4 separate regions of the Homo sapiens genome follow, and all the other regions are linked to region 1. The links are contacts of gene promoters, found by promoter capture Hi-C in human tissues and cell types (Jung and others, 2019). All regions are on one chromosome and are shown on one strand. The core of a region is centred on a gene start or on the middle of the fragment in contact, and the rest is flanking DNA. Distances in the headings are between cores, read along the strand shown.

Region 1 (6,234 bases), core at 1,140-3,639:
TAGAAGGCAAGGGTTAGAGGAAACTTTTTGCCGCCCACCCCCAGTCTGCAACAGTACCTGTGGGGAAGATTTTACCCTGGGACTCCAATTTTCAGGGAGAGGAAGTTTCTAGGATTTCCCATAGGCTTACGAGGGACTCGCCATGTGGAAGGATTTTAGGCCTGAGAAGGATAATAACACTTTATAATTTCTAGGTGATCTTATTTGTTGCCTCTTCCTTCTCCAGAGTGACTACTGCATTCCGACCTGCACCCCCACCCTTTTTTTTTTCTTTTGAGACAGAGTCTTACTCTGTCACCCAGGCTGGAGTGCAGTGGTGTGATCTTGGCTCACTGCAACCTCCACCTCCCTGGCTCAAGCTATTCTCATGCCTCAGCCTCCCGAGTAGCTGGGACTACAGGCATGCACCACCACACCTGGTTAATTTTTGTATTTTTAGTAGAGACTGAGTTTCACTATGTTGGCCAGGCTGGTCTCCAACTCCTGGCCCCAAGTGATCTGCCTACCTCGGGCTCCCAAAGTGCTGGGATTACAGGCCTGAGCCTCTGCGCCCAGCCCCCTCTTCTGCTTTCTAAGTGTCCATTCTCCTTGTAGTGAGTGGGTGGTGGGGGGATATACACATGTGACTCTGGTTAGTACATAGGCAGCCATGAAGTCCACAAATGTACAGGGAGCCACAGCTTTCATGCTACAGACTTGCAAAGGTATGCATCTGCTTTCCCCTTGCCCTGGAATATAGATCAGAACACTTCATTTAGTGAAGGGACCTGTTCCGAGAGTGATGATCCCTCCCTCGTTTGAGACACTGCCTTCATCCTGAGCTTCTTGGAGCAGCCCAAGGCCCTGCCAGCTCTCTTTGCCTGTAGCTTGTAGGCATTTATGACAGTTGCATACCCTGCCCTCCAACGGCAGCCTGAGAGACTGAACTATTACCAAGTTCACCTGGAAAAATGTCACCCTGATTGATTAGAATGGTGGGTGGCCATCTTAGCTCATTAGAATCACCTGGGAAGTTAAAAAAAAAAAATCCAGTATGCACTCCAAATTTTCCCACCACCACTCCTCCCCACAAAAAGAAAATTTAAAAAATCCCAGTGTTTGGGCCATATCCCAGACCAATTAAGTCAGAATCTCCAGGGATTGGACCCAGGTAGCAGGATTTCTAAAAATCTCCCCAGCAGCCAGGCCTGAGAGCTAATGAATAGCACCACAGGGCCCAGCCTTTCAGCCTACAGCTTGTCTCGGTTTCACCCTTTTTTCATTTCTTTACAATGAAAATTCTAAATAGTTGATCACAGTGCCAGACCAATAAGAAAGCATTTTAGGGAGGAGAGAGGAGGGAAGGGGTTGGCAGGCACGGAGAGGACTTGACACACAGAAAGCATTTTGCTATGGAGTCATAACCATTTGATTCTAAGACACATGCAGCCTCCAGAAGTCATGCGGCCCCGCCCTCTGCTTCCAGGAGGGAATGAACTTGGCCGTCCTTTTGTTGCACACGCCCGGGAGCTGCGCCGGCGCAGCGCGCCCTGCAGCCTGGGAGCGCAAGCGTGTGCGCCACTGGTCCTGGGCCACCACCGCGCGCCGCGGGCGGGTGCAGGGCCCCTCTGCCGCAGGGAAACCGGCGTTCCCCGCGCAAAGCAGCCGCTGCTCCTAATGAGCTCATGGGTTCACCGCGCTGAGCTAGCCAGAGCGGACCCGGCTTCGCCAAGGGCCTGCTGGCTGTCCTGACACCTGGCCTACCTCGGGGGTGCCTGGGTACGCTCTTCCTTTGCCTGCGGGATAGAAGCACAATGAAAATGGGGTGGACGTGGCTGGGAGACAGCCCTGCTCTCTGGCAGGCTCTGGGGAGTGTGTGGTACGTGGCATCCGCACTGGTGGGTGTCGTGCGATGATCGAGACACGGATACTGGGTGTCTTTCCCACTAGGGGAGAGAGGGCTGCGTTTAGAGGGAAACGAAATAGATCCGAGAAACACAAAGATGTCACAAAGGAAACGCTTCCCCACCATAAGCAATCTAAATAAATGATTCTTAGAAGACATCCAGCAAAACACATAACCTTGTCATTTAGATTCGCTCGCCCACAGGGGGACTGGAGGGTACTCACCGACTAGGGCTTCACAGCCGCATCACCGCCGGCGGTGGGCGCCTGCCTCGGCAGGGGCAGGGTGGGTGCCCGCAGGGCACAGGTGCCGCCGTGGCTGCTCGCACAACCCCTGCAGCTGCGATCCCGCCCAGTTAGCCTCGGGGGCTGCACAGCCCAGCCCCCTCGCCCAGGGCCCAGGGGTTCTCAGGCCGCGCGGCGAGGACGGAGGGCTGCCCCGGGTGCCTGCCTACGCGGGCGCTCCCCGCCGGGACTCCGCCGGGGCTGCAGGAGCGCGCGCTGCTGGCTGGGCGGGCTGCGGCTCCGCGCGAGCGCCGTGGCAACGCGAGCGGGCGCCCCCAGGAGGCCGCGGAGCTGCGGCGTGGGACGCTTGGGTGAGGCTCAAGCCAAAACCAAACCCAAACCATTTCTCCTCCTCCCCATCTTTTCATTTTCTCCCCTTCTTTTCATTTTCTCCCCTTCTCCAACCCCTTCCTCGACACACGTTACTAGCACCTCGAAGGTTGGAAATTCCAGCACTCTCCTGAGGCCTCTTCCCCAGCGAATCCTGCTAACCACGCAGTCGGTGTTCGCTGTGTGTTCGAGCACACACCTCCTTGCAGTGGCTTCAGCACCCAGGTCTCCGGGAGCCAGTGAAGGAACCAAGTGTTGGATACTGAGCAAGTCGCGTAACATCTGAGTAGTCGTGAAATTGAAATTTCAACGGTATAAAGGACACGACGTTGTCTTACAGATTGAAAAATGCTATAAAATGAAGTTCTTACTGTTACTATGATGATGACCCTGGAGATCAGCGCAGAGCCCTGGGGGAGGGCTACAGTTGCAAGCGCTCCAAGGATCAGATCGCGCACTCCTCCCCACCGGAGAAAACCTCTTGATGCCGGAGCCCGGGCAGCCTCTTCCACACTTCCAGCCAGCCCCTTCCACACTTCCAGCCAGCCCCGGCATTGCCACAGCCCGTGGAGCTGGACAGAAATCCACCAGGCACTAAAATAAGTTAGATGGAAGACGGGATGGATTTGACCAAATTCCTATCAGCATCTGCTCAGTATAATTGCAACATTATAATCAGAGCAGAAAGAAGCCCAGAGATTATTTTGTCTTCAAGGATCATTGGCCTCAGTATTATCTCCATCTGAAGCTGTGTTGTCCAAAGCAGATTGACTCCAGCCGGCCAGCTCAGAAGAGGGCCGACTCTGGGCTGGCGACTCCTTGAGAAGGGCTCTCTCTGGTCCCAGGTGGTATTTACTTAACCGTATCATCATCTGCTTCATTCGTGTTCCCTTCATGTCCATCATGTGAGGACGGGAACTGACAGGGCCAGGGTGTCGGCTCAGAGGCAATCTCTGCTCATCCTCTAGAGCCCCACTTCATCACCCAGCCACTCTGTCCACTGTCTCCCCACCTACAAACCTGCAGGTGTTCTGCCCCAGTACTAGAATAAGGGAACACATTTTTACTGAGCTCTGACAATGTGACTGGGCTTTTCAGGAGCTATTTCATTTAATTTTTAATGTAAAACATTGTTTTACATATTAAGAACCTAAAAGCACAAACAGTAAGTAACTTGCTTGTGGAAGCTTATGCAGCGAGATAAGTGGTAAAGCTGCAATTCCCAGTTTTGTTTGATGCCACAGCTGAAGGTGCAAGGCCATCTGGGCACGGCCTGAGTGGATATTAGGGAAAAATGCCCTAAAAGGTCCAGAATCTCTAATAATTTCTCCTACTTCTCATTTTATTTTATTTTTGACGCTGGAGTTTTTTTTTTTTTTTTGAGTCAGGATCTTGCTCTATTGCCCAGGCTGGAGGGCAGTGGTGCAATTTCAGCTCACTGCAACCTCTGCCTCCCAAGTTCAAGCGATTCTCCTGCCTCAGCCTCCTGCATAGCTGGGACTACAGGCATGCACCACCATACCCAGCTAATTTTTGTGGAGATGGGGTTTTGCCACATGGCCCAGGCTGGTCTCAAACTCCTGAGCTCAAGCGATCTGCCCTCATCAGCCTCCCAAAGTGCTGGGATAACAGGCATGAGCCACTGCACTAGGCGAAAACGTTTATTTTAGAAAAACTGAAAAATATAGAAACATAAAGGAAGAAAAGCATTCATAATCTCATCACCTAGAGAAAGCCATTAGTAATATTCATATTTCTTTCCAGTCTTTTTTCTAGCTTTCTAGCTTTAAACTAAGTTGAGATAAAACCACACACACACACACACAGACACACAAGTGCATCCTGCTTTTTGTTAAAAATAACTTTGTGGGAAATTCTTCCTCCTTTGAGGATTTTTAAAAAACATTAATTTAAATGTCATACAATATTTTTATCATATGAATATCTCATAATTTCCCTTTTATTGAATATTTCCAACTTTTATTGATTGTAAATAATGGCAATAAAATTTTTTCTTCATAAATCTTGCTCCTATGTGTGAATAATTTCCTTCCAGGTGAGTCCCAGAAGTGGAATATTGAGTCCAAGGGTATTAACATTTTAAAGACTTTCCAATCCTCTCCAATGGGGATATCCAACTCACCCAGCCCCGTTCCCCACAGGACCTGCACGGTCCCACTCCACTGCCCTCCACACATCTGTTGTGCCCTCACCTGGTATATAGCATTTAAATTATTTAGCTCACAAACTCTTTGGGAAACTAGGGTTAGTTCTTTGTAGCTTTTTGGTTGATTATTTTGATTTACTCAGAAAAACGCAGTATCTCCTTTACTATTTTAAAATCCTCAATAAGTAAGAATAGGGAGAGAAAATAAGAGAAAGGGGTGAGCTTTCCAAGGCCCTGGGTTAAGCCAGGGATGCCGGAGCTTGGAGCTCACTTGATACTGACCCTGCTGATGGCCTCAGCCTCAGTCCTGCTATAGAAAAGCTGCCCTGTCCCTCTGATCCTCACGTTTTAATCTCAGCATTTACTGCTGATGGGATGATTGGGTAAATTGAAAAACTTGTCAGAGAGGGTTAGGCTTTGATGGGTGGGGTAGGGGAGACCTCTCAGGAAAAGCAACTAGAGTAATAGAACTGTCAAAGGTTGGCAATAAGGCTGTGTGATCTCGCTGATGGTTCTCCAAGATGAAATGAAACCTAATGCTGCTTTCTTCTTCCTTGAGAGAAGATAGCAAAGAGGGCAGAAGGTGAGGGCTGGGGGCTCAATGTCAACTCTAGAATCTCTTTAAACCTTTTCAGCGTTTGTTTTTTTCCCCACTGAGAAAGTTAAGTGTGATGGGAGGGAATCTAGTCCTTTTGACTATTTTAAAATGTACCTTCTAAAATCAGATCAGGCCAAAAGGTTTTTTACTCTTGAATAAATTTAGGGCTAAAGGCTGTTGGAAAATTAATAGGAGTGGATTCAACGTGGCAATAGATCTTTTATAAATTCTCTTATTGAGTGAATTTCTGAATACTGAAAACAGTGTTTAGCACCTATTGCATTAAAGTGAGTATAAGACTAATACTTTGTATTAGTGACTTTGGCTGGGTGCGGTGGCTCATGCCTGTAATCCTAGCACTTTGGGAGGCCGAGGCGGGTGGATCACGAGGTCAAGAGATCAAGACCATCCTGGCCAACATGGTGAAACCCCATCTCTACTAAAAATACAAAAATTAGCCAGGTGCGGTGGCGTGTGCCTGTAGTTCCAGCTACCCGGGAGGCTGAGACAGGAGAATTGCTTGAACCTGGGAGGAGGAGGCTGCAGTGAGCTGAGATCACACCACTGCATCCCAGCCTAGGCGACACAGTGAGACTCTGTCTCAGAAAAAAAAAAAAGACTAATATTTCATCAAGCAGTTTTAGATAACGTACTGAATTTAGGAACAAATTTACTGCAATTAAATTGACAAAATACCTGTAAATTTTGCAGCTTTTCTCCCCCACAGACTAGCACTATGCAAAAATTGAATGTTTAATTATGAATGAAGGTATCTACCATGTTGTTCACAGAGTTTAATTACCTGAAGACAATGCCTGAGGTTTAAAGTTAAAATACATATATTTGAACATAGAACATTTACTTGACCACTTTATACCATGAGTGAAAGGGGTCAGTCTATGCTTTTTTCCCCTTCCCTGTCTTTTACCAGCTGGCCATTTTATTTGCATAAGGTACACTGAAATTCCTA
Region 2 (6,234 bases), core at 571-3,070, 380 kb before region 1:
TTAGGGCCGCGGGTCGGAGCACTCACCGCCGCTGGGGGACCCTGTCGGAAGCAACTGCCGCCGCCGCCTCTTTCATCTCTTCTGGGGCAGGGGCCAGGGCCAGGTGAGGGGAGTGGGGTTCCGGGAAGGCTGAGCTGGGTGAGGAGGTGGTTTTCACCTGGGTAGGAAAGTGCCCAGAGACCGTATCGAGCCACCGACTCCCCAGTGGTTCCGACGACGCGTGAGTTTGAGTGTGTGTGTCTACACCGGCGCTCCTTCGCCCGAAGGTGCTCGGAGCTTAGGGGTCCGCTTCACCGTGACCGGACCTGGCCGCGCGGCCCCGCCGCTGAGCAGGCTTCTTCCGGCGTGGGGTGCCGGAGGCGGAGGAGCTCGGCCCTGGCTCCACGCCGCTGTCCTTCCCCACAGACAGCTTCACGTGGAAAACCCGGGTCCATTTTTAGGGCTAAACTGGGGAACGGCGACTTCTTTTTGGTTGAGGGAAAGGTTTTCCTGCGATTCACTTAGAACACTGGAAGATTAGCTTTGCCAGTCTTAGTCGTTTCTTCTCAGAGATTGTTAGAAGTCTTGTTTCTTAACCTTAATTCACTGCTGTTCTGACACCTATTTTTTCAGAAAAAAACTGCCTTCTTGCCCTTGGAGGCAGTACAGTTCACACGGAGTCATTTTCCCCCTTTGATTTATCCTCCCAACATTCTGTAAAGATCCTATTTCTTGCCTTCATAACCGACTTTCTGAGTGGAGGCTCTAACCTAGCGTTGAAAATCGGACGGATCTGGCCAGTTGTTCACATGCTGTTGACTGCTGGCTTTGGTTAGCTCTTAGCCACTCCCTGCACAAGTGTTTGTTTATTCAAAATAGCTATCTCACTGTCTCTGTTTAGAAGTTTGAACTAAGCTGAGAGCCCTCCCTCCTTACTTTTATTTTTTTGTTGTTGTTGCGTAAAACAAAACAAAAACTTCTTTGGCGAAATTATAAGATTTCCTCTGGAGGTTTAGTATAAAGCAGAATGTTGCTCTCTGCCCTGACTAGTGTGACCTTGGATGAGTTGCCACACCCTTCAGATACCTTCTTTCTTTTTTTTTTTTTTTGAGACAGAGTTTCCCTCTTGTTGCCTAGGCTGGAGTGCAATGGCGCGATCTCAGCTTACCGCAACCTCCGCCTCCTGGGTTCAAGCCATTCTCCTGCCTCAGCCTCCCGAGTAGCTGGGATTACAGGCATGCGCCACCACGCGGGGCTAATTTTGTATTTTTAGTAGAGACGGGGTTTCATCATGTTGGTCAGGATGGTCTCGAACTCCCAATCTCTGGTCATCCCCCCGCCTCAGCCTCCCAAAGTGTTGGGATTACAGGCGTGAGCCACCGCGCACGGTGATACCTTTTTTTCAACCACCCCCGCGCCACCGCATGAAGTATTATTTTCATTTTTAACACCCTCTCTCCCCCAAGTGAAGTATTCTTCATTTGGTAATAGGCAGTTAAGGGTATTGAAAATCTTTTTACTAGGAATGGTCAGGTACTGTTCTGTATTTTTTTTCCAATGGCTCATTTTTTATGTGGAAGAGTATATTCAGTAGTTGGATTCACTTTTTATTTTATTTTTAGTTGTCTCCTACAGCAAGGACCAGTAGTTGAATTCAATTGAAAGATGCCTAAGGCTATATCTAACCAGTCTTGTAAAAAAACAGACTTGTGTTTACTAGCACATAATCTAATCAACATGTATTAAATATCACACACATTAAGCTTTTAGGACAAGTGGTTTGCAACAGTAATAATCATTAACAACATTTCATTTGGCTGTTTGCGATGGCTCACTGTAATCCCAGCACTTTGGGAGGCTCAGGCAGGAGCATTGCTTGAGCCCGGGAGTTCGAGACCAGCCTGGGCAACATAAGGAGACCTTGTCTTCACAAAAAATTAAAAAAAAAAAAAATTAGCCAGGCATAGGTCCCAGCTACTTGGAAGACTGAGGCGAGAGGGAGGACTGCTTGAGCCCGGGAGATCAAGGCTGCTGTGAGCTGTGATTGCTCCACTGTACTTCAGTCTGGATGACAGAGACCCTGACTCAAAAAATATATATATGTTTGTTTATTAATTTTTTATATATATATATATATTTTTTTTTTGAGGCGGAGTGTCGCTCTGTCGCCCAGGCTGGAGTGCAATGACACGATCTCGGCTCACTGCAAGCTCTGCCTCCTGAGTTCACACCATTCTCCTGCCTCAGCCTCCCGAGTAGCTGGGACTACAGGTGCCCGCCACCGCGACAGGCTAATTTTTTGTATTTTTAGTAGAGACGGGGTTTCACCGTGTTAGCCAGGATGGTCTCGATCTCCTGACCTCGCGATCTGCCCGCCTCGGCCTCCCAAAGTGCTGGGATTACAGGCATGAGCCACTGCGCCCGGCCTAAATAGATATGTATTTTATTGTGAAATACTTCAGGCATACAAAACACAAGTGTTAAACATTCACTTAGTTCCAGTCTGCATTTATCATTTTTTAGACAGGATTTTGATTTGTATCTTATTCCAAATAAATGTTCACCAAGAGTTCTTGTTTAATATATATACAAAGTGGGGGTGGGTGGTATTTTCAGATTGGTTTATTTTTTTTTCTTGTTCTTCCTCAGACGGTAATGTGCCAATAAGCCCATGAGGCAACATGATTTGAGGGAGGCACATGTCATGCATTAGCATGAAACCCAGTCATCTTGGTTCTTTATGAACCGCAAAAGGATTGGAGTAGCTGATTTTTTTTAACAACTTTATTGACATATAATTAACGTACCATACAACTCACCATTGTACAATTCAGTACTTTTTAGTATATTCACAGAGTTGTGCACCCACCACCACAATCATTTTCATCACCTCAAAAAGAGACTCCCATACCCATTAGCAGTCATTCTTTATTACTGGTCCTCCTACCCCCACCCTTGGGCAACCACTGATCTACTTTCTGTCTATGGATTTGCCTATTCTGGAGATTTCACAAAAATGGGATCACATAATATGTGTTTTTTTTTTTTTTTTTTTGAGAATGAGTCTCACTCTGTCGCCCAGGCTGGAGTGCAGTGGTGCCATCTCGACTCACTGCAAGCTCCGCCTCCCGGGTTGACGCCATTCTCTTGCCTCAGCCTCCTGAGTAGCTGGGACTACAGGCGCCCGCCACCACGCCCGGCTGATTTTTTGTATTTTTAGTAAAGACGGGGTTTCACTGTGTTAGCCAGGATGGTCTCCATCTCCTGACCTTATTATCTGCCCATGTCGGCCTCCCAAAGTGCTGGGATTACAGGTGTGTGCCACCGCGCCTGACCAATATGTGGTCTTTTGTGTCTGGCTTCTCTCTTTTTTTTTTTTTTTTTTTTTGAGACGGAGTCTCACTGTCGCCAGGCTGGAGTGCAGTGGCATGATCCCACTGCAACCTCGGACTCCCAGGTTGAACCTAACTCAGTCCCAAAGTAGACTGAGACTGTAACTCAGTCTCAGTAACTGTAACTCAGAGTAGCTGGGATTACAGGTGCGTGCCACCACACCCAGCTAATTTTTGTATTTTTAGTAGAGACGGGGTTTTGCCATGTTGGCTAGGCTGGTCTCCAGCTCCTGATCTCAGGTGATCCACCTACCTTGGCCTCCCAAAGTGCTGGGATTACTGGCGTGAGCCACCACGCCCGGCCTGTCTGGCTTCTTTCACTTAGCATAATGTTTTCAGAGTTTATCCAAGATGTAGTGTGTATCAGTACTTTATTCCTTTTTATTGCTGCATTCTATTCCATTGTGTGGACATACCACATTTTAAAAATAAGTTGATGGGCATTTTTTTTTTTTTGAGATGGCATTTCACTCTTGTTGCCCAGGCTGGAGTGCAATAGTGCCATCTCAGCTCACCTCAACCTCTGCCTCCTGGGTTTAAGCGATTCTCCTGCCTCAGCCTTCCAAGTAGCTGGGATTATGGGCACACACCACCATACCCAGCTAATTTTTTTTGTATTTTTTGTAGAGATGGGGTTTTTCCATGTTGCTGAGGCTGGTCTCAAATTCTTTGACTCAAGTGATCCTCTTGCCTCTGCCTCCCAAAGTGCTGGGATTATAGGCATGAACCACCACACCTGGTCTGTAATGCTGCTTTGAGCATTCATGTGCAAATTTTTGTGCAGATGCGTTTTCATTTTTCTCTGGTATATATCTGGAAGTGGAACAGAGTAACTGAATTTTATGTCCTCCATTTACACAAGCCATATACAGGAAGCCTAATTATTGTGAAAGTCAGATTATCTAGGACGGGATGAAAGTAAGGCAGTTCTCTGAATTATCTGCAAATGCCAACTGCTGAGTGAAAATATTTTTGGGTAGCTCTAACACAAGATTGAACAATTAGGCCTGTTTTAATTGGAAAGGGGGTAGTGTCTACACTAGAGTTTTAGTGTCTGCTGAGTTTTAAAAATGATACTTGTCCAGTTGCATTTTTCAGATGGGTGGGGTGAATTTTTTACCATTTGATAATTTTTTTTTTTGAGATGCAGTTTCACTCTTGTGAGGTCTTCACTCCCGACCTCAGGTGATCCGCCCGCCTTAGCCTCCCAAAGTGCTGGGATTACAGGTGTGAGCCACCGCGCCCGGCCATTTCATAATTTTTATTAGAATTATTTTACTCTCTTTCAGAGAAAGTCTTACAATTCAATAGGAGCTGGCAAAGCATGGATTAGAAAATAGCTTTGGACTCCATGTTAACTTGTGGAACTTAAAAAAAATTCCCTGTTCAAGCCACCAGTGAGTCATGAGACTAAAGAGCTGATAGCCAAGAAACTTAATGTTTTGTTGTTGTTGTTTGCTTTTTTATTTTTATTTTATTTATTTATTTTTTGAGATGGAGTCTCACTCTGTCGCCCAGACTGGAGTGCAGTGGTGCGATCTCGGCTCACTGCACGCCCCGCCTCCTGGGTTCATGCCAGGAGGTGTGTAGCTGGGACTACAGGCACTCGCCACCATGCCCGGCTAATTTTTTGTATTTTTAGTAGAGATGGGGTTTCACCGTGTTAGCCAGGATGGTCTCGATCTCCTGATCTTGTGATCCGCCCTCCTTGGCTTCCCAAAGTGCTGGGATTACAGGCGTGAGCCACGGCGCCCGGCCAACTTTTTTATTTTGAGACAGAATCTCACTCTGTTGTCCAGGCTGGAGTGCAGTGGTGCAATCTCGGCTCACTGCAAACTCCGCTTCCTGGGCTCAAGCCTGATTCTCCTGGCTCAGCCTCCTGAGTAGCTGGGAATACAGATGCACACCGCCACACCCAGCTAATTTTTGTATTTTTGGTAGAGATGGGATTTCACCATGTTGGCCAGGCTGGTCTCGAACTCCCGACCTTAGGTGATCTGCCCATCTGGTCTCCCAAAGTGCTAGGATTACAGGCATGAGCAACTTTGCCTGGTCTTTTAATGTTTAAAATTACAGCTTTTTGATTTGTGATGGATTTATCTGTGAATTTTTATTTTTCTCTTTATAAACTGGGATTATAGTTGTGTTCAACTCTGTATTACTGGAGCATTTAATAATTCTTTTTTTTTTTTTTTGAGACAGATTCTTGCTCTGTCACAAGGCTGAAGTGCAGTGGCACTATCTCGGCTCACTGCAATCTTTGCCTCCTGGGTTCACGCCATTCTCCTCTCTCAGCCCCCTGAAGTAACTGGGACTACAAGTGCGTGCCACCACGCCCAGCTAATTTTTGTATTTTTAGTAGAGACAGGGTTTCACCACGTTGGCCAGGATGGTCTCAATCTCTTGACCTCGTGATCCGCCTGCCTTGGCCTTCCAAAGTGCTGGGATTATAGGTATGAGCCACCACGCCCGACTGCATTTAATAATCTTATAATATTTTAGTGGAAGGAAATTTAGAAACAGGTTTTTGAAATAATTTATTAAAATGTGTTAAACTATAGGGTGTTTTGGTTTTCGTTCTGTGAGGTTAGAGAATACAGTATAAGTGTGATACTCTAAATTAGTATATCTAATGTGAGTGCTAGGAATTTCTTTTTTTTTTTTTTTTCTTTTTGAGACGGAGTCTTGCTCTGTCATCAGGCTGGAGTGCAGTGGCACAATCTCAGCTCACTGCAACCTCTGACTCCCTGGTTCAAGGGATTCTCCCACCTCAGCCTCCTGAGTAGCTGGGATTATAGGCACACGCCACCATGCCTGGCTAATTTTTTGTATTTTTAGTAGAGACGAGGTTTCACCATGTTGG
Region 3 (6,234 bases), core at 1,620-4,119, 350 kb before region 1:
CAAATCATGAGGTCTACAATTCAAACCTTGTAGAAAAATGGATCCAATAGGTTATATTATCTGCAAGAAGTCTAAAACGTGTAGGTGTTCTGAGTTTCTGATTAAGGGGAGGTCAAGAGTAGAATGATAGATATTAAGTTAGAAATGTTTTTGTGGAATAGAGGGCTAACTTTTTTCAGCCTGGTTGTTATTTCTGTTTCTGTCATTGAAGTATGTTTGAAGGAGTGTTAGTAGCTACAAGAAGGATTGATTTCTCTTAAAAGCACGTTCATTCACTGTAGCTTATGACAGTGATTGATCAAAATTCTTACATTGTTGAGTATGACAGAGATTACCTTAGCCTGGAAAAAAATTGAAGGCAAGTCCATTAGAGGCAAGCCACCCTTGGAAACAGGTTGCAGAACATCTGGTATTCAGGAATACAGCTTTTTAGTAAAACTTCCCCAATCAATTTGTTGTGCAATGTCCAACAAATTTAAGCAACACATATTAAGCCATTCTCTCTAGCAGCAATTGAAGAGCAAGAATAACTGCCTGTCAAGATTTCTCCTAGTTTGTGTTAAAACAGCCTTATTTTATATTACATGGCATTATCTAAACTGACAGAGGTTGTCCTGCTATTCCTACCTTTCACAGTGTGGAAAGCAGGTTCTGTATAAGCATCTTTGATTAAAAATCTGTGATGAGCTAATTTCTGTTCACAGAGATAAGGGGCCAGGAAAGATAATTATCTAATAATACAATTTTAGAGCATGAAAAGAATTGGTGAGTGGGAGCACCTGTCGATTGGGCATTTATCTCATTACTCTTCACAACTACCCTTTGTGGTGGGTATTATTTTCCCATTTTATATAAGAGGAGAGACGGTGGCTCACGCCTGTAATCCCAGCACTTCGGGAGGCTGAGGCAGGCGGATCACTTCAGGTCAGGAGTTCGAGACCAGCCTGGCCAACATGGCAGAACCCTATCTCTACTAAAAACAAAAAAAAATAGGCAGGTGTGGTGGCACACGCCTGTACTCCCAGCTACTTGGGAGGCTGAGGTGGGAGAATTGCTTGAACCCAGGAGGTGGAGGTTGCAGTGAGCCGAGACTGCACCACTGCACTCCAGCCTGGGTGACAGAGCGAGACTCTGTCTCAATTAAAAAAATAATCATAAAGAGGAGAGGGTCAAGAAGATTATTTTCCTTGCCCAAGTGAAGAGTTAGAAGGCCTGACTCCAAAGCTTATCAACCACTTTACGGCTGTTTTCCAGGAAGCTGGAAGGGAAAGAGAGAATTTTATTGCAAGAAATAGCATGGGCCGTGAATTAATTTCTGAGCTTGTGTTTGATTTCACTTAATAATGTCATGATGTATTCTGGAGATCACTGTATCTTGTGCAGTTATATTAATCAGTGCTGTTGCAGAGCCATCTAACACTACAAATTACTTCTAAAGGGAAAACCTGTTATAATTATAAACAGTAATGGAGATTTAGTAGAAGCTTATCTGTAAAGGTAGACTTTTATGCTTTATGAGAATTTATAAAGATTAGGATAAATTGGCATAGGATCTTTCTAGGATAAATTGGCCTCAAATTTTTGCATAATAGATTGTTTTATGTAACATTTTCAAGTTTTTATGAATGTAGTTTATCAAAGTTATTTACTTAGGCAGAAGTAAGTGAAATGTCATTAAGCAAAGTATATGCTATTGGTGACATTGAGGAGATCCTTTGTGTTACATTTCAACTTTTAAGGATTCTGGCACTTAGGGAGGCAGAGGCAGGAGGATGGCTTGAGCCCAGGAGTTTGAGACCTGCCTAGGCAATATAGTGAGACCCTATTCTCAAAAAATAAAAAAATAAAAAAATAAAAGGATTTGAATTTTATTTTGGTTAGTCTCATCTCATAAGGAAAGTGTTTTATGTCGCTTAAAGCCATGTTATTTTTGTCAGCTTTAAAAGTAGAAAATGAATCAGAATCTGTGATACGTAAAAATGTTTAACCTTTTGTTTTTTAAAGGTATTTTAAATACCTGTGGATGATAGAATAATCAAGTTTCTTGACCTTAATAGAATTAATTAATTCAAAGCCCATCTGAGAATTTGGGATTCTTTAATTTGGTTGCAAAAAATGAAAACATAGGCAGAGCCTGGTGGCTCATGCCTGTAATCCCAGCGTGAGGGAGGCCAAGGTGGGCGGCCTGCTTGAGCCCAGGAATTTGAGACCAGCCTGGCCAACAAGGCAAAACTTTGTCTCTACCAAAAAAAAGAAAAACCCCACACAGCTGGGCGCGGTGGCTCACACCTGTAATCCCAGCACTTTGGGAGTCTGAGGCAGGTGGATCATGAGGTCAGGAGATCGAGACCATCCTGGCCAACATGGTGAAACCCTGTCTCTACCAAAAATACAAAAATTAGCTGGGTGTGGTGGTGTGCACCTGTAGTTCTAGCTACTCAGGAGGCTGAGGCAGGAGAATCACTTGAACCCAGGAGGCAGAGGTTGCAGTGAGGCGAGATCGCGCCATTGCATGATCTGGCGACAGAGCGAGACTCTGTCTCAAAAAAAAAACAAAAAAACCCCACAAAAATTAGCTGGGCATGGTGGTGTGTACCTGTAGTGCCAGCTACTTGAGAGGCTGAGGTGGGAAGATCGCTTGAGCCTAAGAGGTTGAGGCTCTTGTGAGCCATGATAGTGCCACTGCACTCCAGCCTGGGCAACAGGGTGAGACCCTGTCTAGAAACATAAAATATATAGAAGTGCTGAAGTGCAGTGGTGCAGTCATGGCTCACAGCAGCCTCGACCTCCCAGGCTCAAGTGATCTTCACACATCAGGCTCCCGAGTATCTTGGACGATGGGAACATGCCACTGTGCTCAGCTAGTTTTTTTTATTTTTCGTAGAAACAAGGTCTAGCTATGTTGCGCAGGCTGTTCTTGAACTCCTAAACTTAAACAATCCTTCTGCCTCGGCCTCCCAAAGTGCTGAGATTACAGGCATGAGCACCACACCCAACTGAAGTGAAGATTAAATAAGGGGACATGAAAGTCCCTGTCAGAAGACAGTATCACCGATATAGACAGCCTTTCTGCTCTCTGTTAACTATTTAATCATGTCAGAAATGTTTCTGAGATCTTTCATTCCTAGCCACCCAACCAGAAGATGACGAGAGCACAGCCTGGATTAACGATTTTGTAGTCAGACTCACCAGAGTTCCAATTATAACTTCTTTATGGTAGTGGTAGAACCTATCCAAGCTTCAGTTTCCTCATCTTCAAATGGAACTATTATTTCATCCCTCATAAGGTTGACTTGGAAATTAAATGAAATAACACATAGGAAATGTTTACTACCGTGCCTGTTAAGTAACAGGTACTTTGTAAATGCTTGCTGTTGTCCTGCCCTTCCTGAACTTCCCCAGTCTATATAAATAGTTTCATGTGCTGGACAAATCTTACTCATTTTTGTGCTGCGTAGATGCTTCAGGACATACCTGATAAATAGCAGGTAGTCAATGTTTCTTCAGTGGATAAATGAATAGTAGGTAGACCTGCAACTTAGTGGCCCAGTTCATGCTGCTTTTTGTTAGCTTGTTTGGTTTTTCTGCTGAAATTCTTGCATGGTGGAGTATAGTTGATTGCAGGGCCCTTCCCCCACACCCAGGTAGGGGCTTCATTGTCCCCACAAGTTACTTATCTCAAGTCTTTAGGGAAATGAAAAACCACTCTCCTCTAACAGAAGGTTAGTTGCTAAGTATACAATTCAGCATCCTCTGGGTGTTCAGGTAAGTCTGAATTTAAGTTCCAGAAATGAGTGAGATTCCTAGGATGACTCTGAATTATCTTGACTTCCCTGAATGCTTCTGGCTAAAAACCAAGCTGGGATTATTGATGTGATTGTGAATCTGGCCCATGTCCTGGGAATGTGGATTCTGCTGCATATGTCAATTGGTTTGGCTCTTTTTTTTTTTTTTTTTTTTTTTTGAGACAGTTTCACCCTTGTGGCCCAGGCTGGAGTGCAATGGTGCGATCTCTGCTCACCACAGCCTCCAACTCCTGGGTTCAAGTGATTCTCCCACCTCAGCCTACCGAGTAGCTGTGATTACAGGCGCCTGCCACCATGCCTAGCAAATTTTTGTATTTTTAGTAGAGACGGGATTTCACCATGTTGGCCAGGCTGGTCTTGAACTCCTGACCTCAGGTGATCCGCCCGCCTTGGCCTCCTGAAGTGCTGGGATTACAGGCGTGAGCCACTGTGCCTGGCTGGTTTGGCTCTTTTTATCCTAAATTTTTTGTTTAAATGTTCTGTAGTACTGAAATCACCTGAAAGTAGAAGAAAAAAAAATTATTCAAGAAAGAATATTTTTGCAATGTAGGGAGAGCTTGAGCTTTTTATATAAGCTTTTAAAGCTTTAAAAGGAACTGTGCTGTTTTACCCCCAAATTTGCCCACTTTGAATTCAGGAGAAACGTTTTGGTCTCCTTTATGTTCTAGTCTCTGGATACAAATGTTTTCTTTGTTCGTTTTTTCCCCTTATTACCAACCACAGGTTCTTAGGCTCCTGTGTAATAGAAATTGACACAAGGCCAAGCAAGTTTCCCAGACAAGGCTATATTAAGACTTATGGGCCAGGCACGGTGGCTCACGCCTGTAATCCCAGCACTTTGGGAGGCTGGGGCGGGCGGATTACCTGAGGTCAGGAGTTCGAGATCAGCCTGGCCAACATGATGAAGCACCATCTCTACTAAAAATACAAAAAATTAGCCGGGCGTGTTGGCAGGCACTTGTAATTCCAGCTACTCGGGAGGGTGAGGCAGGAGAATTGCTTGAACCCCGGGGGGCGGAGGTTGCAGTCAGCCGAGATTGTGCTATTGCACTCCAGCCTGGGCAGCAAGGGCGTAACTCTCTCTCAAAAAAAAAAAAAAGCTGGGCACGGTGGCTCACGCCTGTAATCCCAACACTTTGGGAGGCCGAGGTGGGCGCATCACGAGGTCAGGAGATCAAGACCATCCTGGCTAACACGGTGAAACCCCATCTCTACTAAAAATACAAAAAATTAGCGGGGAATGGTGTCGGGCGCCTTAGTCCCAGCTACTCGGGAGGTTGAGGCAGGAGAATGGCATGAACCTGGGAGGTGGAGCTTGCAGTGAGCCGAGATCAAGCCACTGCACTGCACTCCAGCCTGGGAGAGAGCGAGACTCTGTCTCAAAAAAAAAAAAAAAAAAAAAAAAAAAAAAGAAAAAAAGACTCATACCTAGAAAGGTTGGACATAAGGGAGACAGCACAGGAGGAAGGGTTCTCCAGCTGGCTCTCCGAGGGGAGTGCATTGCGGTGTCTTAAGGAGGGTGGCATGCATGATTCACGAGGTAAGTGAGCATCACTACGTGTGTGGGGTGGAGTGCAGACACGGTAAGGAATCGTGCTAACACATGATCAGAAAGTGGCAGATAAGCGTCTTTCTGGGTGGTGATTTTAGTATTATAATGAGGCTGGTGATTAGGATTGGTCATTGTCCTTGAGCTCGTGTGAGTGGTAGAGCTCACTCCCTTGAGTAAGATTTATGGCAGGCTGCTGCCTATAGTTTCTTCATACCATACCTGCGAGGTCTGGTCAGCAGGTATGGTGCCAGTTGGGATGGCGCTGTAGGGTGTGGCGGTCACTGAGAACGTATGGAAAAACACATTAGTGGGGTGGGGCCAAGTCCCATTTCCTACTCTGTCGCACCTCCATGCCCCGCGATTACTCGTCTTGATCTGTCTCCTGGAGCCTTTTAGTGGTTGGTGATCATTGGCCCTGCTCATTAAGTCAGGTTACCCAATAGTACAAAACTGTAGTACATTAGCCAAATGAAAGAGGACTATATTATGCAGTGGGTGTGAGTATGTGAATTCAGGGACGGGGAAAGAAGGAGAATTAGATGGGCTGGGCGCAGTGGCTCACACCTGTAATCCCAGCACTTTGGGAGGCCGAGGCAGGTGGATCACGGGGCCAGGAGATCGAGACCATCCTGGCTAACACGCTGAAACCCTGTCTCTACTAAAAATACAAAAAATTAGGCGGGTGTGGTGGCGGGCGCCTGTAGTCCCAGCTACTTGGGAGCAGGAGAATGGCGTGAACCTGGGAGGCGGAGCTTACAGTGAGCAGAGCTTGCGCCACTGTACTCCAGCCTGGGGGACAGAGCGAGACTCCGTCTGAAAAAAAAAAAAAGGAAAATTAGATGGTAATTAGTAAAGAGTTTAAACCAAGGCTTATAG
Region 4 (6,234 bases), core at 1,403-3,902, 300 kb before region 1:
TTTTTGTATTTTTTAGTAGAGGCAGGGTTTTGCCATGTTGGCCAGGCTGGTTTCAAACTCCTGACCTCAGGTGATCCACCCACCTTAGCCTCCCAAAGTGCTGGGATTACAGGCGTGAGCCACCACACCCGGCTAATTTTTTATGTTTTTAGTAGAGACGGGGTTTCACCGTGTTAGCCAGGATGGTCTCGATCTCCTGACCTCGTGATCTGCCCTGCTCGGCCTCCCAAAGTGCTGGGATTACAGGCATGAGCCACCGCGCCCGGCCAAGAAATTTTTATGATGCACACTTTTCTTGTTACCTTGCCCCTTAGAAATAACTCATAATGGTTTGGTGTACGTTTTTCTAAACATGTGTTTTGCTTATATAAACATTTTATTATGTATAAATATATGCAAATAAGTAGATATGTATATATGTGCATTTAGTAAATAGGATCATACCATCCATTTTCCCACAGAGTTATCTTTGCCACAAATCATGTGACCTTATATATCTAGTTCTGGATTCTATTTTATTTAATTGGTCTAATTGCCTCTGTTTTTTTTGGAATTGAGACAAGATCTTGCTCTGTCATCCAGGCTGGACTACAGTGGCACGATCATAGCTCAGTGCAGACTCAAACTCCTGGGCTCAAGGGATCATCCCATTTCAGCCTCCTGAGTTGAGTAGATGAGACTACAGGGGTGTGTGTGTGTGTGTGTGTGTGTGTGTGTGTGTGTGTGTGTATGTAGAGATGATGTCTTACTATGTTGCTCAAGCTTGTCTTGAACTCCTGGCCTCAAATGATCCTCCTGCCTCAGCTTCCCAAAGTGCTGGGATTACAGGTATGAACCACTGTGCCCAGCCAGGTCTAATTGCCTATTTTTAAGCTCTTACCATGCTTATACAATCAGTGTGCCTTTGTAATGGGTTGAGTAGATACCTGGTAGTGTCAGCTCTCAAACTGTTGTTTTTCAAGATCAGCTTAAATTCCTTGGCCTTTTTAAATTGCTATATAGATTTTAGAATTAATTAGTTGTCAATTTCCATAAGAAAAAACCTGGTAGGATTTTATATTGGAGATTGTATTGAACCAAAGGGTTAATCTGGGAATAGCTGACATCTTTACAATAGTTTTCCAATCTATGAGCATGATATATATATCCCTTTAGGATATCTTTAATTTCTTTCAATAATACTTTGTAGTTTTTTATGTAGAGTTATTGTACAATATGGGCTTCCTTCCACATTGGACTTAAAAATGTACTTCTTTTTTAATAGTAGTTAAATAGTTTGGATGAACCATATATATTTTTAAACTTTCCTGAGGGTATTGAAGACTGTTTGAAATCCTTCTGTATTAAAAATGATGCTAATGAAAATCCTTGCAAAATGTGTAAGCTTGAGACCTGATTACAGCTTCCGGTTAGGATCTCCATGTCTTTGCTTACTTAGCTGAACCAAACCCTCCCTGTGTCTCTCTCTATCTGTCCCTCTCCCTCTCTCCCTCTCTCTTTCTCCCTCTCCTGAATGCATCCTCTTCTGGACCATTCCAGTGGTCCTTACCCTGAGGCTGGGGCAAGCTGTCATCCTCAAAAGCTGGGAGGCCTAGAAGCCCTCTCTTCCAAGCCAATGGGCCCTCCAATTTTCCTAATTGTATACTGCAGTACTGTAATTTTTAAAGACAGATTTTACTTTACAGTTTTGTGTTATCTCTGCTTAGAAGAGATGGAGGAGGAAGGAAAAGTTTGTAAATTACCTTCTTTAGCCAAGGGAGGGTATTGTTTCCATTTGTTTTCACTTCCTTATTGTCCCATCCAGTTGGTATTTTAGAATAGCTCTTTGTCCTACCACCATACCACCAAAAACAACAATTAAAATGACAACACAAACAATAGCAAGTTATGAAATAGCATAACTTACTGATTACTTCCTATGTACAAAGTACTAATCTAAGCACTATAAATACTATACCTCGGGCCGGGCGCGGTGTCTCACGCCTGTAATCCCAGCACTTTGGGAGGCCGAGGTAGGTGGATCACGAGGTCAAGAGATTGAGACCATCCTGGCCAACATGGTGAAACCCCGTCTCTACTAAAAATACAAGTATTAGCTGGGCATGGTGGCGTGCACCTGTAGTTCCAGCTACTCGGGAGGCTGAGGCAGGAGAATCACTTGAACCTGGGAGACGGAGGTTGCAGTGAGCCAAGATTGCACCACTGCACTCCAGCCTGATGACAGAGTGAGACTCCGTCTCAAAAAAAAAACAAAAAAAAACAAAAAACAAACTATACCTCATTTTAAAAATGAACTCAAGTCCAGGTGTGGTGGCTCACACCTATAATCTCAGCACTTTGGGACACTGAGGTGGGAGAATTGCTTGAAGCCAGGAGTTTGAGACCAGCCTGGGCAACATAGAGAGACCCGTCTCTACAAAAAATAAAAAAACTTAGCTGAGTGCAGTGGCCCATGCTGTTATTCCCAGCTACTCAGGAGGCTGAGGCTAGAGGATCCCTTGGGACCAGAAGGTTGAGGCTGCAGTGAGCTGTGATCCTGCCACTGCACTTCAGCCTGTGTGACAGAGCGAGACCCCAACTCTAAAAATACAACAAAAACAATCTTATCTAGTCAGTCATCCCCATTTTATTTGTGAAGAAATTGAAGTCTAAAAGTTTAAGCAAGGTATCCAGATTCGCACAGCTGGTACACAGTTGGAGCTGGGATACAAGCCAGTTGTTTTTGACTGTGAATTTTGTGGTCATACTGTATTATTTTAACCCCCTGATTATTCCATACTCATAGAACATCCTTGATGCTTACCAGGGCCTCTGAAGTGGCTGGAGCAAGGGTCGAGGTAGAAAGTGGTGCAGTATGATGCCGACATCATGGTCGTGTGATTTATTTGTATTTCTTATTTCCTTTTTTATGGGGCTGATAGACTTTTGATTTATGTTAGATCCTTGATGTATGTAGAAAGTTTTTGGTTTTGGTTGAAGAATGAAATTATCCTACTTCAGTTGAATAGCAACCATAATCATAAAATGAAGTAGAAATTAATTTGCTTTACATATTCCATTCAGATTCCCTGTAGCTTTTACGAGTGTTGTCTAGCCTTTGTATGACAATTTCTGTACATCTCTGTGACATTCCATTCCATTGGTTCTCTTCCTGTCCTTTTATTGCGCCTTACCCTCTGGGTTGGCCTAGCCCCTTGTGCATACACCTGTCATAAAGCTTTCTGTATCATATTGAAGTTAGTTATTCATATGTCAGGCTTCACAGCTGCCTAGTAAATTCTGTAAGAATAGACCCATTCTTTCTCGTAGCCCTTGTGCCTGACACAACCCTGATAAGCAGTAGGCACACGGTGGCCTGTTATTAATAGACATGGACACAAGGCCTGTGCTGTAGGGCTTTATTGCTTTCACTCAGACTTCCTGACAAAAGAAGCAAGAGTCTCCGTGTCTGCAGCATTTCTCCATTCTGTCTCTGCCATCAGAGGAATTTTAAAGCAAAGCTCTGATTATAATTTTGTACCTCAGAGATGTCAGTGACAAACCATCGCCTGTTGGATAAAGTCCATATTTCTTAGCTGTCATTCAGGTTCCTCCATGGTCCTGTCCTCACTGACCTTCTATTCTTCATGGGCACTCTGCATTAATTAAACAGGGCTCTGTCCTTATCTTCTTTTTTTTCTGTCTCTGTGCTTTTGCCTGCATTGTGTCTTCTGTGTACCCTTCGCCTGCCAAAATCTTACCCATTCTTCAGATGTCTGATAGAAATGCTAGTCCCTCCGTGAGGCTTTCTGTGATCTCCCTGCTTTCTCTGACCTCTACCCAAAGAGGTCTTTTTCCCATCTGAACTTTTTTTCTTCTTCTTCTAAGGAAAGCAACACTGCCATATGAACTCTTAATGGCACTTGGACTATGACATAGCATTATTTGTATACCCTACTAAGTGATAAATTCCTTGAGCACAAGGTCTTGCCTTTGTTTTCTCTGCTGTTTTGCATTAATTACTGCATTGAACATACAGGGTGAGTATCCCTTATCCAAAGTGCTTGGGATCAGAAGTGTTTTGGATTTTAATTTTTTTTTTTTTGATTTTGGAATGTTTGTGTGTATGTGATGAGATGTCTTGGGGATGGGAAAGCCCAAACATGACATTTACTTCTTTTTGTATGCACCTTATACATATAGCGTGAAGGTAATTTTATATAATATTAATATATTAATTTACAAATATACAATATTTATAACATAAATATATATAATATTTTGTGTGCATGAAGCAGATTTTTGACTGTGTTTTGCCTGCAACCCACCACATGAGGTCAAGTGTGGAATTTTCCACTTGTGATGTCATTTCAGCACTCAAAAAGTTTCGGATTTTGGGCCGGGCACAGTGGCTCACGCCTGTAATCCCAGCACTTTTGGGAGGCCAAGGCGGGTGGATCACTGAAGGTCAGGAGTTCCAGACCAGCCTGGCCAACATGGTGAAACCCCATCTCTACTAACAATACAAAAGTTAACTGGGCGTGGTGGCAGGTGCCTATAATTGCAGCTACTGGGAAGGCCGAAGCAGGAGAATCGCTTGAACCTGGGACGCGGAGGTTGCAGTGAGCTGAGATTGTGCCACTGCACTCTAGCCTGGGAGACAGAGCAAGACTCCATCTTAAAAAAAAAAAAAAAAAAACCTCAGATTTTGGATCATTTCAGATTTCAGGTTTTCAGATTAGGATGCTCTCAGCCTGTGTGTGAATTACACTGAATGTATATTAACTTAGGATTTTTTAGTTTCAAGGAGACTGCTCAGAAGACTGTCAAAAATTCTTTCTCTGCATTGGCCTACAAATACATGCATTCCATTCGGAAACTATGTAGGTTTAAACAGTGTTTCATTCCTAGAACTTCAGTTTAGGAAAGAATTTGCTTTCCAGATTGATGTTTATGTTTTAAATAGTTACCATTCTTTATTATTGACGCTTGTCCTTCGTTTCTAGGGCACTGTGTTTAGTCTTGAGTCAGAGGAGGAGGAATACCCTGGAATCACTGCAGAAGATAGCAATGACATTTACATCCTGCCCAGCGACAACTCTGGACAAGTCAGTCCCCCAGAGTCTCCAACTGTGACCACTTCCTGGCAGTCTGAGAGCTTACCTGTGTCACTGTCAGCTAGCCAGAGTTGGCACACAGAAAGCCTGCCAGTGTCACTAGGCCCTGAGTCCTGGCAGCAGATTGCAATGGATCCTGAAGAAGTGAAAAGCTTAGACAGCAACGGAGCTGGAGAGAAGAGTGAGAACAACTCCTCTAATTCTGACATTGTGCACGTGGAGAAAGAAGAGGTGCCCGAGGGCATGGAAGAGGCTGCTGTGGCTTCTGTGGTCTTGCCAGCGCGGGAGCTGCAAGAGGCACTTCCTGAAGCCCCAGCTCCCTTGCTTCCACATATCACTGCCACCTCCCTGCTGGGGACAAGGGAACCTGACACAGAAGTGATCACAGTTGAGAAATCCAGCCCTGCTACATCTCTGTTTGTAGAACTTGATGAAGAAGAGGTGAAAGCAGCAACAACTGAACCTACTGAAGTGGAGGAGGTGGTCCCCGCACTGGAACCCACAGAAACGCTGCTGAGTGAGAAGGAGATAAACGCAAGGGAAGAGAGCCTTGTGGAAGAGCTGTCCCCTGCCAGCGAGAAGAAGCCCGTGCCGCCGTCTGAGGGCAAGTCTAGACTGTCCCCCGCCGGTGAGATGAAGCCCATGCCGCTGTCTGAGGGCAAGTCTATACTGCTGTTTGGAGGGGCTGCTGCTGTTGCCATCCTGGCAGTGGCCATCGGGGTAGCCCTGGCTCTGAGAAAGAAATAGGAGGCTTTTCAGAAGAGAAAGACAGAAGGATGTAAGGTTGGAGTTGTATTGGCTGGAATTTGAACCTCCAGCAGCTGTCTGGACATTTGTGGAACACTCTGGGATAATTGGGGACTTCTGCTCAACATGGCAGTGGCATGTTAGGCATGTTAGGGCTTGAGGTGGGGCATTCACATTCATCTGACTGTAAATCCCAAGGGCCTCCGCTCATGCTAAATTGAGAATCTTAGGGGTAAAGCACCCCCTCCAGGACCGGGTTTCTCAGCCTTGGCACTAGTGCTGTTCTGACCATTCTCTGTGTTGGGGCTGTCCTGTGTGTGGTGGGCTCCACCCACTAGATGCCAGTGGCACCCCCTCCCAGAGATGACAAACGAAAATGTCTCTAGACATT

The links. Contacts are between HindIII fragments. The study calls those that stand out against the background at their distance.
Region 2: a contact is called between a fragment that was not itself captured here and the fragment with the promoter of MICAL3 in region 1, in 1 of the 25 tissues and cell types used here (mesenchymal stem cells).
Region 3: a contact is called between a fragment that was not itself captured here and the fragment with the promoter of MICAL3 in region 1, in 1 of the 25 tissues and cell types used here (dorsolateral prefrontal cortex).
Region 4: a fragment that was not itself captured here is called in contact with the fragment with the promoter of MICAL3 in region 1 in 3 of the 25 tissues and cell types used here (aorta, dorsolateral prefrontal cortex and mesendoderm cells).

Annotation. Positions count from the first base shown.
Region 1 is chr22:18,022,172-18,028,405 of GRCh38, forward strand. MICAL3 (microtubule associated monooxygenase, calponin and LIM domain containing 3) reads right to left here and starts at 2,390. Exons shown (of 32, transcript NM_015241.3): 1 at 2,110-2,390. RefSeq lists a silencer at 2,118-2,527. The HindIII fragment of the contact is 7,498 bases long and covers 1-6,093 here.
Region 2 is chr22:17,638,784-17,645,017 of GRCh38, forward strand. BCL2L13 (BCL2 like 13) reads left to right here. Exons shown (of 7, transcript NM_015367.4): 1 at 1-103. It also overlaps the pseudogene LOC124905160. Among named protein-coding and RNA genes, the nearest start is that of BCL2L13, 3.1 kb to the left of the region's middle. RefSeq lists enhancers at 1-215, 1-856. The HindIII fragment of the contact is 6,703 bases long and covers 1-5,172 here.
Region 3 is chr22:17,675,325-17,681,558 of GRCh38, forward strand. All of the region lies in intron 2 of BCL2L13 (BCL2 like 13), which reads left to right. Among named protein-coding and RNA genes, the nearest start is that of BCL2L13, 40 kb to the left of the region's middle. The HindIII fragment of the contact is 3,031 bases long and covers 1,355-4,385 here.
Region 4 is chr22:17,721,692-17,727,925 of GRCh38, forward strand. BCL2L13 (BCL2 like 13) reads left to right here. Exons shown (of 7, transcript NM_015367.4): 7 at 4,986-6,234. The coding sequence ends at 5,843. Among named protein-coding and RNA genes, the nearest start is that of MIR3198-1, 39 kb to the right of the region's middle. The HindIII fragment of the contact is 3,159 bases long and covers 1,074-4,232 here.